3 separate regions of the Homo sapiens genome follow, and regions 1 and 2 are each linked to region 3. The links are contacts of gene promoters, found by promoter capture Hi-C in blood cells and fetal thymus (Javierre and others, 2016). All regions are on one chromosome and are shown on one strand. The core of a region is centred on a gene start or on the middle of the fragment in contact, and the rest is flanking DNA. Distances in the headings are between cores, read along the strand shown. Region 1 overlaps DENND3 (DENN domain containing 3). Region 2 overlaps DENND3 (DENN domain containing 3). Region 3 holds the start of CHRAC1 (chromatin accessibility complex subunit 1).

Region 1 (4,935 bases), core at 699-3,198, 650 kb after region 3:
CTTTTGATTCTGACCTTGCCTGTGCCTTCCTAACACCCTCTCCTGCTGGTGACTGCCTTCCTAACAGCTTCTCCTGCTGGTGACTGTGCCTTACTACCTTACTAACGCCCTCTCCTGGTGACCCCCTGCAGGTGGCTGTTTTGGGACAGCCCTCTAGGAAGACGCAAATCTGATAAACCTGCAGGGAGCACCTGTCACTCTGGCCTGTGCTGGCTCCGGGCTCTGGCTCAGTCCGTGGAGGGCTCTGTCCCGAGAGGCCTGCATCCAGGGGCTAGTGAGGGACAGACAGGCCATTTTGATGTGACTCATAAGCTAGATCATGAAACCATCTATGGGAGAGCCACAGGACGGGTGGGGCACTCAAGATGTGCCTGTTAGCAAGTTTTCTTTCTCCTCATTCCACTAATTACAGCATTAGCTACCTCCTGCATGCTATTGCTTCCCCAGCACCTGAGCTGGAATTGGTTAAGTGGACAAGTCAAGTGTGTTTATTTCAGTGTGATACAGTACAGGTATTGAGTTGCTATTTCTGGCCTAAATAGGCAGTCACTTAAGGAATGTATGGCAAAAATGATAGCTTCATAGATAAGTACTTTTTAATGCAAAAGCCTTTGGGCTTCTCCCACCCTTTCTCCTTTTCTCTGGCAGTGTTCTTCCTCTCCTTCTTGCTGGTTGCTCCCTGAGTCCAGCAGTGAAGGAGGCACCCCCGATGCTGGCCTCCTCTGTTCTTGAGGGGCCTTCCGCTTTGGGAGGTGGTTAGCACAGAGCCTGCTGGCTTGATCGTACTCTGCGTGATTATTTCAAAATGGAAATTTGAGTGGCCTTTTTTTTTTTTTTTTTTTTGAGATGGAGTCTCACTCTGTCACCCAGCCTGGAATGCAGTGACGCCATCTGGGCTCACTGCAACTGCCGCCTCCCAAGTTTAAGCAATTCTCCTGCCTCGGCCTCTGAAGTAGCTGGGACTGCAGGCGCCTGCCACCACCACGCCTAACTAATTTTTTCTATTTTTAGTAGAGACAGGGCTTCACCATGTTTACCAGGCTAGTCTCCAACTCCTGACCTCAGGTGATCCTCCTGCCTCGACCACCCAAAGTGCTGGGATTACAGGTGTGAGCCATAGCGCCCAGCCTGAATGGCCTATTCTTTTGATGTATTTGTTTGCATAAAGCGAATAATTTATTAGGAAAAAATGGGATGGTGTATTACAGACATGTGATATTATCTCTGCTCAAAGAGGCATAATTAGTGGGGTCCTAAATATGTTGTTTTCCTTTTGTTCTTTGAAGATGAAATATCTTATGAACAATTTTTTTTTAATTTCTTAATATTTTACAAACTCAATGAGTTGACAGAAAAGCAGAATAGTCCCAGCCACTCCAGAGGCTGAGGTGGGAGGATCCCTTGAGCCTAGAAGTTTGAGACCAGCCTGGGCAACATAGCAAGATCCCGGCTCTTTAAAAAAAAGAGGCAGAAAATATGATTACATATGATAAAACTTTATTTCCCCTAGATGAAATAATTTATTCTCTCCAAGAAAACACTGAACACATTACGTACTAAGTATGCCCTGTAAGGTTATTCATTCTATTTATATATTACTTTAGATCTGGGAGATCATGTGCTAAAATCGCGAGTTTGTAACATGATCTGAGGAAACCGGGTACAAAGAGGTGAAGTGGGCCGGGCTCGGTGGCTCACGCCTGTAATCCCAGCACTTTGGGAGGCCGAGGTGGGTGGATCACCTGAGGGCCAACATGGTGAAACCCCATCTCTACTAAAAATATAAAAATTAGCCAGGCATGGTGGTGTGTACCTGTAGTCCCAGCTACTCGGGAGGCTGAGGCAGAAGAATCACTTGAACCTGGGAGGTGGAGGTTGCAGTGAGCCAAGATTGTGCCACTGCACTCCAGCCTGGGCCATAGAGCAAGACCCCGTCTAAACAAACAAACAGACAAACAAACACAGAGGTGAAGTGACTTGTCCGGGAAGGCTGGCGGCCGAGCTGGTCAGCACTTGGAGAGTCTGGCTGCCCCTCTGGGCTCCCCACCCTGAACTCAGTTTCATGTGTGTGGACCGCAACTGACTTTTGTGTCTTAATTTGCATAAGGAACTAGTGGGCTGGAGGAAGGTGAGAACAGGAACACTGCCTCCTGTACTTTCGTTCTAGCTGGGGGAAATTTATGCTTGACCACAAAATACATCCACATCGTATCATTTTGGTAATCAAGAATCTTTCTGAAGAACATGGCTTTTTCAAAGTTCGTATCTCTTCTAACCATTTCTCTGCTACTAAAAGTGGTATATTTTTCATGTATTTAAGAAAGTTTTAGCACTCAGACTCTCTTTCTCTTTGTTAGGGATGTAAAGAATCATTTAAACTATGAACACAGAGTCTTTAATAGTGAAGAATTTCTCAAAACCAGGGCTCCAGGGGACCATCAGTTTTATAAGCAGGTGAGAGCTGTGGGATTTGGGTGTGCCTGTGTGTGTTCAATCCATTATCCTTTTCTGTATTTAAATACTTTTCAAAATAAGTGTTCTCAAGTGTATCAACTTTTCCAAAAAGTTTGTTTTAGCATGGTTCCTTTTGACCATGTGGCTCTCCCTCTTTTTTAAAAAAATCAGCTTTTTAAGAGTATAATTTACTTGTGGCCAGGCACAGTGGCTCATGCCTGTAATCCCAGCACTTTGGGAGGCCGAGGCGGGCAGATCACCTGAGGTCAGGAGTTCGAGACCAGCCTGGCCAACATGGTGAAATCCCATCTCTACTAAAAATACAAAAATTAGCTGGGTGTGGTAGTGCACGCCTGTAATCCCAGCTACTCAGGAGGCTAAGGCAGGAGAATTGCTTGAACCCAGGGGGTGGAGGTTGCTGTGAGCCAAGATGGTGTCACTATATTCCAGCCTGGGCGACAGAGCAAGACTCCGTCTCAAAAAAAAAAAAAAAAAAAAAGTATAATTTACTTAAAATATGGCCATTTTAAGTGTGTGGTTTGATGGATTTTGACAAATGTACATATCTGTATCACCACTTCCTCAACCTGGACATAGAACATTTCCATGGCTCCAGTCTGCCCCATCCCTCCCCAGGTCCTGGCAACTCTACCTGTGTGCATCCCCGTAGACGGCTGGCCCATCTCAGAGTCTTGCGCTGTGCAGTCCTGCGGTCTGCGCTCTGTCTGCCTCTCTCCCTCAGCCTCCTGCCTCGGACCGAGCTGGGCTACTGTGTGTCTCAGCGGCGGCTCCTTTTTTTGCTAGGAATGTCCCGTGGTTGGGACAGAGTGCGCTTTGTTCTTCTGTCCACCTGCTACTGAGCATTGGGGTTGTTTCCATTTGTGACTATTACAAAAAAATAATCACCTTGGGGGCTTTGCCCTGGCAGGCGATTGAAGCTGCCTGAAGAGCCCCTTGATCCTTTGGGGGTTTGTTTTTACAGCTTTGGGGTGGGCCGAGAACAGCCTTTCTCTAGGGTTGGTTTATAGCCTAACCCATCTGCTAAGTGACGTACCCTGCCCCGGGTGTCTCCTGAATGGCTGAGGGGTCAGCCAGGGCCCTCCGCCTTGGCTGTTGGGAGCGTGACTGGCTCTCTGCCCTGTGAGCTTGGAGAGTTGTTTTGCTTACAGCTTCCCAGTCGTTCTTTGGTTTGATGCGGTTTCGCCCTATGACTGGGCAGCGGGGTATTCAGCAAAGGCTTAGGGAGACCCTGATGCAGGCTCCGGGAGCTCCCTGTATCATTCCCTCCTCTCCAGAGCCCTGCCCGAGGCTTCCAGCTGCCTCAGCCTCTGTGAGCTCCCTCCATGCCCTCAGTGCTGGAGCTGCGCCAGCCACGAGCCTGCCTCTCGTCCAGCATCTGAAAACAGTCGTTTCCTCTTTTTTATCGAGTTTCCTCATAGTTTATGTCAGGAGGATATGTCTGAGCCTTGTCTACTGCCTTATGGCCAGAAGCTTGTGTCCACCTCTTGTAGCTATGATGAAATACTCTTTTGTTCATGGGGTGGGTATGTGGGACCCAGTGTGTGAATGTATGGCAGCCATTTCTTCTCCTGTGTGAATGAGGAAGAGCAGAAAACCCTCGAGTTCATTCACTCAGTCAATATCCACTGGGTGTGAGTGGTGATGCCCAGTTCTGTGCCAGGAAGGCTCAGGGGCTTTGGAGCAGGGACCTGGGGAGTCGGCACAGCCCAGTGACCAGCCCCTCTCTCTTTTCCAGGTCTTAGACACCTACATGTTCCATTCTTTTCTTAAAGCCCGGCTCAATAGGAGGATGGACGCCTTTGCTCAGATGGACCTCGACACCCAGTCGGAGGAGGACAGGTGCTTCACTGTTGTGTTTTGGATCTGCAGCTCTTTAGGAATCACAGTGTTCAAGGACCTCAGTTTTATTCGAATGAGTAAATGAGAAAGTCAATGGGAAATACCTTGTGCTTAGAAACTCATGATGAACTGGGCGACAGCTAGGAAGCTCTTCTCTCCATGTTTCTACTTCTTCTTTTTTTTTTTTTTTTTGAGACGGAGTCTCGCTCTTGTTGCCCAGGCTGGAGTGCAGTAGCTCAATCTCCGCTCACTGCAACCTCCGCCTCCTGGGTTCAAGCAATTCTCCTGCCTCAGCCTCCTGAGTAGCTGGGATTACAGGCACCCACCATCATGCCCGGCTAATTTTTGTATTTTTGTAAAGATGGGGTTTCGCCATGTTGGCCAGGCTGGTCTTGAACTCCTGACCTCAGGTGATCCACCCACCTCAGCCTCCCAAAGTGCTGGGATTACAGGCATGAGCCACCACTCCTGGCCTGTTTCTACTTCTTGAGGGAACACTTGAAACGTGCCCGATGTTAGCATGCTCCCCGTGGTTTGTGGCCCTTGCGTCTTCCTCGGTGCTGCTCTCTCTCATCTCCTTTCTCTCTTCCCACCTCCCCCCATCCTCAAAGCCTGCTGTTT
Region 2 (5,105 bases), core at 2,432-4,931, 670 kb after region 3:
ACCTGCTGAGTGGTCATAGAAGCCAGAAAGGCAGTCAAGCCACAGCCGCAGCCCATAGTAAATGCTCGGCCAGTAGATCCCCCTCTTGCTGTTGGCCTTCAGTTTATGCTTTTTTCCACACCTGCTTTTCCAGACTTCCTTCTAGAATTCCAAAGAAATGTAAATAAATATAAGGAAAGGGAGATGGAAGTAAAAAAAAACAAAAACAAAACAAAAAAAAAAAAACAAAAAGAGGGAGAGAGAAGTATTTAAGGATGTGAAAGAATGCGCTGCCTTCGGACACTGGGCGAGCCCAGCTGTGTGGGTGGGTGTAGGTGCCGCACCGCAGGTGAATCCTACCTGCCGTCCATGGGAACACTGCCCCTCACCCGGGGCCCTGCCTTCCACATGCCAGCAGGATGCGTGCCTGCAGCCCATCTGCCTCTTCATTCCAGAGCCCGCTCTGCCTCTGTCTCTGGTGAATCCACGTGTTCTCTGAGTGTGACATTCCTAACTTTTCTTTTCTGCCTCTGCAGGAGGTCAGGAGAACCACTACTACATTTCTACTTCGGAGAATACCCACTTTAAAAATCAGAGTGGCGTCCAAGAAAGAAGTCTTCGAAGCCAACCTGAAAACCGAGTGTGACCTTTGGCACCTGATGGTGAAGGAGATGTGGGCTGGGAAGAAGCTGGCCGATGACCACAAGGTGGGAGACGCGGGTCCCCTCTGCCCTTTGCTGTGGCTGCCTCAGGGGCCTCTCGCCACCTGTGGGTCCTGTGGCAGTCCTCAGCTGTGAGTGCTCGGGCTCGGGTCTGAGTGTCTTAAGCAGAGTAAGTTTGTCGGACACCATCTTGACAGAAGCATTGAAGATGTGGTCTGTGTGACCCAGCGAGAGGCCTCACGGTGCTACGGAAGAGCATGATGAGAAAACGCAGGGCGGTCTGGGCAGGTGTGGGTGCCCCACTGCCCGCTCCAGACTGGCGACATCCCAGAGAGTGGGGCCTCCCGGGGGCGGACGGTGCTGGTGCTGTCCACACCCGCAGGCCGGAGTTGGGTGTTTTGGGCTTCCCTGCTCTGAGCGACTCTTCACAGTCACAGGATTTGGAATTCGGCAGGGGCAGTACTGCTTTCCTTCCACAGGGTTGAGATGATTTTTCTAGGGATTGTTGTACCTTAATTTACTTTGGGCCAAATTGATAGCTTTGATGATATCAAATGACAATTGCATAGTAATGAAGGGAACCATGGGCCGGTGGTGTGTAGAGGAGGCATCCACGCTGCTCAAGGGTGGCACAAGACAGGAAGACGCCTTAGAAAATGGGCAAAGACCATGAACGCGGAACTCACAGAAAGGGAACAGTTCACCAGGTTATGAAGAGGTGTGTAGCCCCACTAATCCTCAGAGAAATGCCGGGGACGATGGCACCCACTACAGTGGCAGTGCTAGGAGGAACAGATGGGGCCACAGCGGGAGGGTTGCTGTTATTACAGGAAGTTCCCGGTCACAGGGCAGAGGGGGACTGGGTCCTTTCTAAGATTCCAGTGCCCTGTGGCTTTTAGACTAGCCATCTGATGCTATACCCACTGGTTTACATAGCATAAACCAGCATAGTCAAACCAAAGCCCGTGGGCCAGTGGACTGTCTTTGTAAGTAAAGTTTTATTGGAACACAGTCCTGCCTGTTTGTTTATGAAATGTCCCTCGGTGCTCCCATGCCGCAGTGGCAGGCAGTGGGTGATCTCAGCTGAGACTGGCCACAAAGCTTGAAATGCCTCCTGCCTAGCCCCTTCTAGAAAACACTGGCTGAGCCCTGGTATAAACAATCAATATTTGTCTTAAGTAAGAGAAGAAATATATGACATAAAATCCAAATTCATCCGTGATCTAAACTCTTCATGTCACTTTGGAAAAAGGCATTTTGGAAGGATTGTCCTGTGTGTTGCAACAAGGTCTCCGGTGAACTGATCTTAGTGATTCTTGCTGTTTTGAAACGCACGTGTTTCTGTTGTAGGACCCTCACTACGTCCAGCAGGCGCTGACCAACGTCTTGCTGATGGACGCCGTCGTGGGCACACTGCAGTCACCAGGCGCCATCTACGCTGCCTCCAAGTTATCCTACTTTGATAAGATGAGTAACGAAAGTAAGATAAGCCCGTTCTTAGCGTGGATCATTGTCCTGATTACACGCCTTAAGTGATTTTATCTGGTCGATGTCTGTTTTATCAAGTAGAACCGAGCCCAGCTCCCCCAGTTTTTTCTTTTATATTTGTAATTTACTCTCGAGTCGCACACCTTATCCGGCATCTTTCCTTCCTTCACTGCACAGTGCACCTTGGAGCCCCTTGCGCATCCAATTGAGGCACCTCGTCGTTTTAATGTCTGGATAGCATTGCAATGTACACTGCAAGCATTTGTGGTGATTCGTAATTACAAACAACAGCCTTTCCTCTGGCTGGCTGAAGCAGACTAGAAACCTGTGGGAGGTTGTGGAGCGGCTCCTGGAATCTCTGACTGGTGGGGAGCGGGTGTCTGGGACTTGCAGTTAGGAACACACCTGCTGAGAAGCTGGGAACGTCTACACAGCTGGCCTGTTGACTGACGGGCTTCACCGCTGCATGAGTGAGGAGAGGCCCTGCACGTCAGGATCCGCTTTTTTCTTGATTGGGTCAGCTTCCCCAGACAGGAATCCTCTGACTGTCCTGTAGATTTGCATCTGGCTCTCGCATTCTGGAAGCCATAGAGGCTGGTGCTGGACTCCCATTTTTTTCTTGTGAAAGGTGATCTTCAAGCCTAGGGTTTTCTGGTCTTCTTGTGACTGAGTGATAGACACCGTTTGGGTGAAGGACGTTTGGTCTGTCCCTTCATCAGTGAGTGAGCACTGGCGTGGCCTCTGTGTTGTGGCTGCTGTGAGCATTCATGTGTAAGCTCTGGTGTGCACATCTGTTTTCATTTCCCTTGGGCGTAGATCTAGGGGACTCTGGCTTTTTAAAAAGTCGCAGAATTAGGAACAAACCTCACTTACGTGTTTATTTCCTTGGGCACAGTTTGCTCTCTTTGTGGCATCTGTCACCAACTGCAGGACCTCTGCCACTTTCTGGGTACAGAATCCCTCTCCCACGTGACCCAGAGGGACCTTGAGCTGCAGCAGCAGCCGGGCTCAGGTGCCTGTGTTCCTGCAAGGCCAGCTGAGTGGCTTGAAGGAGCTTTTGTCTGACAGTCCTGGAACCAGACATTGATTGCTCTTTTCTTTTTCCTTGGGAGCAAAATCAAACAAACCCCCTACTTCAGCTGTTGATCTCATTCCAAACTCATGCCTAATCTCTGTCGGGCGTTTACAGGAAAGCCTTCTAACGCCTCTGTTATCAGCGCATGACGGCAGACGAGGAGCCGCCATGCTGGTGTCACTTGGTGTGGTGCGCTGGCTCCCGCTCCCTCGTTACAAATCCGGAAACATTTTCCCATGTGTAAAGCTCAGGACACATGAGCCTGAGCTTAATTTAGTAGCTTATGGCCAACTCATGATGGAAGGTCTCAGACTGTACGGAATTAAATAATACCCGAAGATGTCATAGTCCGAGGCAGGAGCTGAAGAGGCGTTGGCCGCGGCCAGTTGGCTTTCACCGCAGCCCGGTGTAGCCCGCCAGCCTCGTGCGGAGTCCTGGTCGACCCCTTGCTGACAGTGTGATCTTCATTTGATCACGGATGTCGACGTGTGTCGGTTTCTTCATCTTTCTTTTTTCAAAATGGGGATAACGGGACCAATCTCATCAGGTTGCTATGACAGTAACAAAATGATGGAAGAGAAGCACTTAAGGGGCAGGCCCTGGACGGCAGGGACTGAGGGAGTCCTGGACGCAGGAGGTCGAGGCGCCCGCAGGGGCTGGCAGGAGGGACCGCAGAACAGGCTGGTCCCAGGGGCCTCCGGGCAGCAATGAGGAGCCGTGTCAGAGCAGGCTGTGCCCGGGGGCCTCCAGGCAGGAGGCCGCTTTAGGTTTTGCCTGGAAACATGGGTTGGATTGGATAGCAAGAGGAGCATTAGGATATCCTGAGGAGCAGTGGTTTTGAACGGGGGGCGATGTTGCACCCCCTCACTGCGGAGAGGCATTTTGACAGCACCTGGAGATATCTGTGGTTGTGTGTGAGGTGCTACTGGCATCTCATGATGCTCCACATCCCATGGCACACAGGATGCTGGGCATTCGCCCACAGCCAGGATTATCCAGCCCAACACGCCCCTGGTTCTAGGCTGGGAAACCGCGCTCATGGGTTAGGTCTCTGGGTTTCATCTTGGGAGGGCTTCGTTATTGAGGAGAATTTTATATCTCCGCTTTGCTGGGCACTGTGTCATGTTTGGGTGTAGCTAGAGATCACAAGGGATGGCTCAGGAGCAGAGAAGAAGGCTGTGTTTAAACAAAGGCAGCTCGAGGCATAGGGGCATGGAGGTGTGGTGTGGACACAGGTGGGGGATGCGCCTGGCCACTCACTCGCACACCAGGTGACAACCAGGAAAGGAGGCCGAGGGTGCATGGCTTTCTTTCAGTGCCCCGGGTCCAAGAGACCTTCGTCTTCACAAATTAGGAAGTTTTACCTGCAAGCTGATATTCTGCAGAAATCAGAGTGCGTGAGGCCGTTGCATCGCGTCTGTTTCCTTGAGGCTGCAACAGTAACACTCCAAGTGTCTTGTCTTTCAGTGCCCATGACGCTTCCGGAGACAACCCTGGAAACACTGAAGCATAAAATCAACCCCTCGGCGGGGGAGGCGTTCCCACAAGCGGTGGACGTGCTGCTCTACACTCCAGGTAAGGCCCCTCTGCCCGCGCCTCGCTGCCAGTTTTCAGCCAATCTGATGCGCTTAGGTTTGGGTTCAGGGTCAGCCCTGAAGTGAAAGGGGAGCCAGTGTCACGGGATAAGTGGGGACAAGGTGCCTGTTGCTTTCTGAGGTGAAGTGCTGAGTGACAGGTGTGCAGCTGGCACGACCGCTCCACGGACTCAGCCTCACGGTGACTGGAGCCAGAGAGCCCACGGGAGATGGAATTGGGGCCAGCACTTGAGCTCCCGCCCCAGGGCTGCCGTCCCTCACCTTCTAGAGCAGTCGACGGTCACGCTAGCTCTTTCTTTTTTTGAG
Region 3 (4,696 bases), core at 1,313-3,812:
CTCCCGGGTTCAAGCGATTCTCCTGCCTCAGCCTCCTAAGTAGCTGGGATTACAGGCGCGTGCCACCATGCCCGGCTAATTTTTTGTATTTTTAGTAGAGACGGGGTTTCGCCATGTTGGTCAGGCTGGTCTCGAACTCCTGACCTCAGGAGATCTGCCCCCCCTCGGCCTCCCAAAGTGCTGGGATTACAGGTGTGAGCCACCGCGCCCGGCCAAAAATAAAATTTTTGTAGAGATGCTGCCCTGTTATGCTGCCCGGGCTAATCTCAAACTCCTGGGCTCAAGCGATCTGCCTGCTTCAGCCTCCCAAAGTGCTGGGATTACAGGCATGCACCACCTCGAGTTCAAAATTCTTCATTATTTTCCATTACTCTTGGAATGAAAGTCAAACTTTTTACCCAGGGCCAGAGCCGGTCCCACCTACCTTGGTAACCACACCTCCCGTGCTCTCTGCCTCCCTCACTAAGCTCCAGACACACTGGCTTTTCAGTTCCTCAAACTGCCCAGGCATTTTCCTCGTCAGGTGTTCTCCCTAGAGCCTGACTTGTCCCGAAAGCTCATCTTGTCTCAGTCTTTCTGTATGAGTGGCTCCTTTTCTTTCTTCAGATCTGGGCACAAATGTCACTTCCCAGAGGGGCTGCCCTATCACTCGCACATGGTTTTGTTTCCTTCGTAGCTTTCAGCATTGGAGGTGTATTTTTTTTTTTTTTTTTTTTTTGAGATGGAGTCTCCCTCTGTCGCCCAGGCTGCTGGAGTGCAGTGGCGCGATCCCGGATCACTGTAACCTCTGCCTCCTGGGTTCCAGCGATTCTCCTGCCTCAGCCTCCCGAGTAGCTGGCATTACAGGTGCCCACCACCACGCCCAGCTAATTTTAATAATTTCAGTAGAGATGGGGTTTGACTATATTGGTTGGGCTGGTCTCGAACTCTTGACCTCAGGTGATCCACCCACCTTGGCCTCCCAAAGTGCTGGGATTACAGGCGTGAGCCAAAGCGCCCGGCTGGAGGTATTCTTACTTATTTTTCAGTCTCCCTCAGACCTGAAGGTCAGCTCTAAGAGGGCAGGGACCATGGCAGCCCTGCTCACTGGCTGTACCCTTGTGCCTAGCAATGCCTGACATGTATTTCTGTGCTCAATTATTTGCGCCAGGACCTCACGTCACAGTGGTGAAGAAGACACTACACTTAACACGCTCCAATTCAAACCTCTGCCAAAATGTGCTCCCTGTCTCAGTAAAGGGCTCTTTACCAAGGCCTTTCTGATATCTCAGTAAGCTGTGCTGATACTCCACAGCAGCTCCCTCTTGAAATCAGACCCCAAACCCTACCACTTCCCATGATCCTGGCAGAAGTTAAGTTGGTGGCCAGGCGCGGTGGCTTACGCCTGTAATCGCAGCACTCTGGTAGGCCGAGGCGGGCGGATCACGAGGTCAGGAGATCGAGACCATCCTGGCCAACATGGTGAAAACCCGTCTCTACTAAAAATACAAAAAATTAGCTGGGTGGCGCGTGCCTATAATCCCAGCTACTCAGGAGGCTGAGGCAGGAGAATTGCTTGAATCGGGGTGTTGGAGGTTGCAGTGAGCCGAGATCGCACTGCACTCCAGCCTGGCGACAGAGCGAGACTCTGTGTCAAAAAAAAAAAAAAAAAAAAAAGTTAAGTTGGACCCCTTACTCTTCCAAGGGCCTCCCCACTCATTCAGAGCGAATTCTGCGGTCTCCGCGGCCTTCCCTGGTCTGGCCCCTGACCATCTCCTGCCTCTCTCCTCCCAGCTGCTGTCCCCTTGGTACTGCCGGCCTCCTGAGGGCCACGTTCCTGGGTTCTCGTAATCATCTTCTACCTGGTCTCTGTGATTCCGGCCTTACGCGCACCCACGCCCTCCCAGCCGGCAGCTGCAGGGATCCTTTTAAAACTGCCCGGGACTCCACTGCTCAAACCCTACCACCACTTCCCATTTTCCTTAGAAAAAAAAATCCAACAGGACCTAGCCCCGGGCTGCCTGTCAGACCTCGGCGAGCACGCCAGGCTCTGCACACCGTCTCTCGGAGCAGTCCCGAAGAGGCCGTTCCCACCAGACTCCGGGACCTCCTCAGGGCAGCTCTTCGTCCTCCACCCCGCAGGAAGGCTCTTCTCCCAATCACCCCGCGGCGCAGCAAGCCTGGCCCCGCCGCATCGCCCGCGCTGGACTCTGCTCTTCCACCGGTCGCCTGGCTACCGGCGCAGGACGCATCCGCTGTCCGCTTGGTCGTCCCCCCTGGACTTTGTGCTTCAAGAAAGCGTCACTTTTTGCCGACGGCGGCACGCCCGGTCCTAGTACAGCGCAGGCGCTTAACACACAGCACCCAGCCACGAGGCCCGGAGTCAGAGGGCTTTGCTTGCCCATTCACAGAGCCCTCACCCGCGGATCAAAGTCGTATTCCGCGACCGCAGCCCGGAGACTCCCGGGAGCGGCGCGGTGCGCCCCGCCCCCGCCAGGCTCTCGGCTGCCGGTTCCGCGCCGGGCCTCGCACTCGGGGGCGGTGTCCGAGCGTCGGCGCATGCGCAGATCGGGGGCGCGAGGCCTCACGGAGCTCGTAGTTTCCCGGACGGGCCGCTCCCGGCCTCGCGGCCTCGCCTCCCCACACTACAACTCCCACGGGGCAGCGGGCGCGGCTCCCCGTACCCACCAGCTGGCCGGGCAGGGCAGCCACTTCGCGGTCGGGCCCGCCGGCTGCGGGCACCCGCGCGACGGGCGGGAAGATGGCGGACGTGGTCGTGGGTAAAGACAAGGGCGGGGAGCAGCGGCTCATCTCGCTGCCTCTATCCCGCATCCGGGTCATCATGAAGAGCTCCCCCGAGGTGTCCAGCATCAACCAGGAGGCGTTGGTGCTCACGGCCAAGGCCACGGTGAGGGGGCAGGGCGGGGGTGTGGGCCGCCCTTACCCCTCGCGCCCCGCCCCGCCGGGCTCTGGGCACTGCCCAGTCCCCTTAGGCCCGCGCGCCGCCGGCTGCTCTTGCCGGGCTCGCGCGCGCCCCGCTGTCCCCGTCCCACGCCGGCGCGCGCTTCGGTGCCCGCGCGCCCCCACACTTTCTCGCGCGTCTTCGCCCCGCCCACCCCTCGCCGCTCCCTCACGTTCTCCAGTTTCTTCGCCTCGCCTACCGCGCGCCTCTCCCGCCCTTTGTCGCCTTCCTTCGCTCCGCCCGCCCCTTCCTTCCGTGCGCACCTTCGCCCCGCCCACCCCACTGTCCTCCCGCCGTTTCTCTCGCGCTTCCATTCGGCAAACCCGTAAGCTCCCGCGTTCCTCTGCGCGCCTTTCGTCCCTCCCACCTGTGCGCTCACGTCCTCCCTCGCGTGCGGCGCTCAGTTTCCGGCCCTACCCGTGGGCGTCGGCGCCTAGTGGCGCTCTTCTCATTTGGGTTCTTTGGGGGCTCTTTCACCCGCGACTCCCTACTCCCGGCCTGCCTTTTTCTTGTCACTGGACTGCTTCGTGCTTTGAGGGCCCTAACTCCTCCAGTGTCCCGTGGGAGGGGCAGCCGGGCGCTTCACCCGCGACTCGAGGCTCTTTTCCCGCGCGTGCGGTGCCAGCTCCAGCGGTCCGAGGCTTTCGAGCCCTCCCGCCCGCCACAGCTGGGGCCCCTCGTCTAAGAGGCAGCACATTCCCCAACCAGAATTTAAGGAAGTCCGGGGAACTTAAGTTTTACAGCCTGCTTAGCATCCTCCTGGGTGCAAAATAGATAATTTTGTCTTTTTTTAAAAAAATTGCGTCTCGATAGTGTTAGGCCAGATGTTTTCCTGTTCTGACACTGGGCCATGTTTCAGCTACACAGTTAAATGCTTTAGCTTGTCTTGGATTCTATTTTCCAGTCCCTACTTGTAGTTAAGTATATGATGTCCCTGCAGTGTTGGACTAGAACTAAGGGAAGTGGGAAATTACAGGTTTCTTGCCCGCTTTATGTCAGAGCCATGTTTTCCTAGAGCCCAGGGAAATAATTGCATATTCAGCATTTCATCTGGGGACATTTGTATTTTCCTATACAATTTCATTCTATTGGTATTAAGGAATGAGGATTTATGCAGGCACTTCTGACCCGTTATTTTATTTTTTGAGATGGAGTTTCCCAGGCTGGAGTGCGGTGGCACTGTCTTGCTCACTGCAACCTCTGCCTCGCGGGTTCAGATGATTCTCCTGCCTCAGCCTCCTGAGTAGCTGGGATTACAGGTGCCTGCCATCACACTCGGCTAATTTTTGTATTTTTTGGTAGAGACAGGGTTTCACCATGTTGCCCAAGTTGGTCTTGAACTCCTGACCTCAGGTGATCCGTCTGCCTCAGCCTCCCAAAGTGCTGGGATTACAGGCGTGAACCATCACGCCCGTCTTTCTCATCCCTTATTAACTGAACTAGATGCATTAAAGTCAAAACCTTGAGAAAGAGGCTCAGTTCAGCCTCTGTAAAAATGAAGACTTGGCCCTGCTATAAGAACTGGGATGCAGGAGGGAGAAGATCAGTTCCGGTTGTTTCATTAGGTCTGAGGGTTGTATGTCAGTTCCTAGAATAGAAAAGTTTTGGCAAAATGTAAGCTGTGGTCACTATAGTTGTAGGTGAACCACCTTAGAAACAGTGTATGCAAATAGAAGACTAAAAAGGTATTCCTGAGCCAAATAGAATTTTTGAATGGCTTTTTGCTACTTTCTATTTTTTTTTCTTTTTTTTTGA

What was found. The method cuts DNA at HindIII sites, captures the fragments that hold promoters and counts their contacts. A CHiCAGO score of 5 or more calls a contact.
Region 1: a fragment that was not itself captured here is called in contact with the fragment with the promoter of CHRAC1 in region 3 in 1 of 17 cell types (M0 macrophages); the score reaches 5.3 in M0 macrophages.
Region 2: a contact is called between a fragment that was not itself captured here and the fragment with the promoter of CHRAC1 in region 3, in 1 of 17 cell types (neutrophils). The highest score is 8.9, in neutrophils.

Annotation. Positions count from the first base shown.
Region 1 is chr8:141,160,976-141,165,910 of GRCh38, forward strand. DENND3 (DENN domain containing 3) reads left to right here. Exons shown (of 23, transcript NM_001352890.3): 10 at 2,358-2,454; 11 at 4,211-4,314. Among named protein-coding and RNA genes, the nearest start is that of DENND3-AS1, 33 kb to the left of the region's middle. RefSeq lists a silencer at 3,675-3,969. The HindIII fragment of the contact is 3,989 bases long and covers 1-3,943 here.
Region 2 is chr8:141,176,076-141,181,180 of GRCh38, forward strand. DENND3 (DENN domain containing 3) reads left to right here. Exons shown (of 23, transcript NM_001352890.3): 15 at 516-686; 16 at 1,992-2,121; 17 at 4,672-4,779. Among named protein-coding and RNA genes, the nearest start is that of DENND3-AS1, 48 kb to the left of the region's middle. RefSeq lists enhancers at 2,552-2,641, 2,652-2,701, 5,013-5,105. The HindIII fragment of the contact is 3,883 bases long and covers 1,741-5,105 here.
Region 3 is chr8:140,508,760-140,513,455 of GRCh38, forward strand. It overlaps CHRAC1 (chromatin accessibility complex subunit 1), which reads left to right and starts at 2,563. Exons shown (of 3, transcript NM_017444.6): 1 at 2,563-2,887. The coding sequence starts at 2,741. RefSeq lists silencers at 1-88, 2,266-3,275 and enhancers at 1,956-2,035, 2,046-2,255, 3,316-3,625. The HindIII fragment of the contact is 9,156 bases long and covers 1-4,696 here.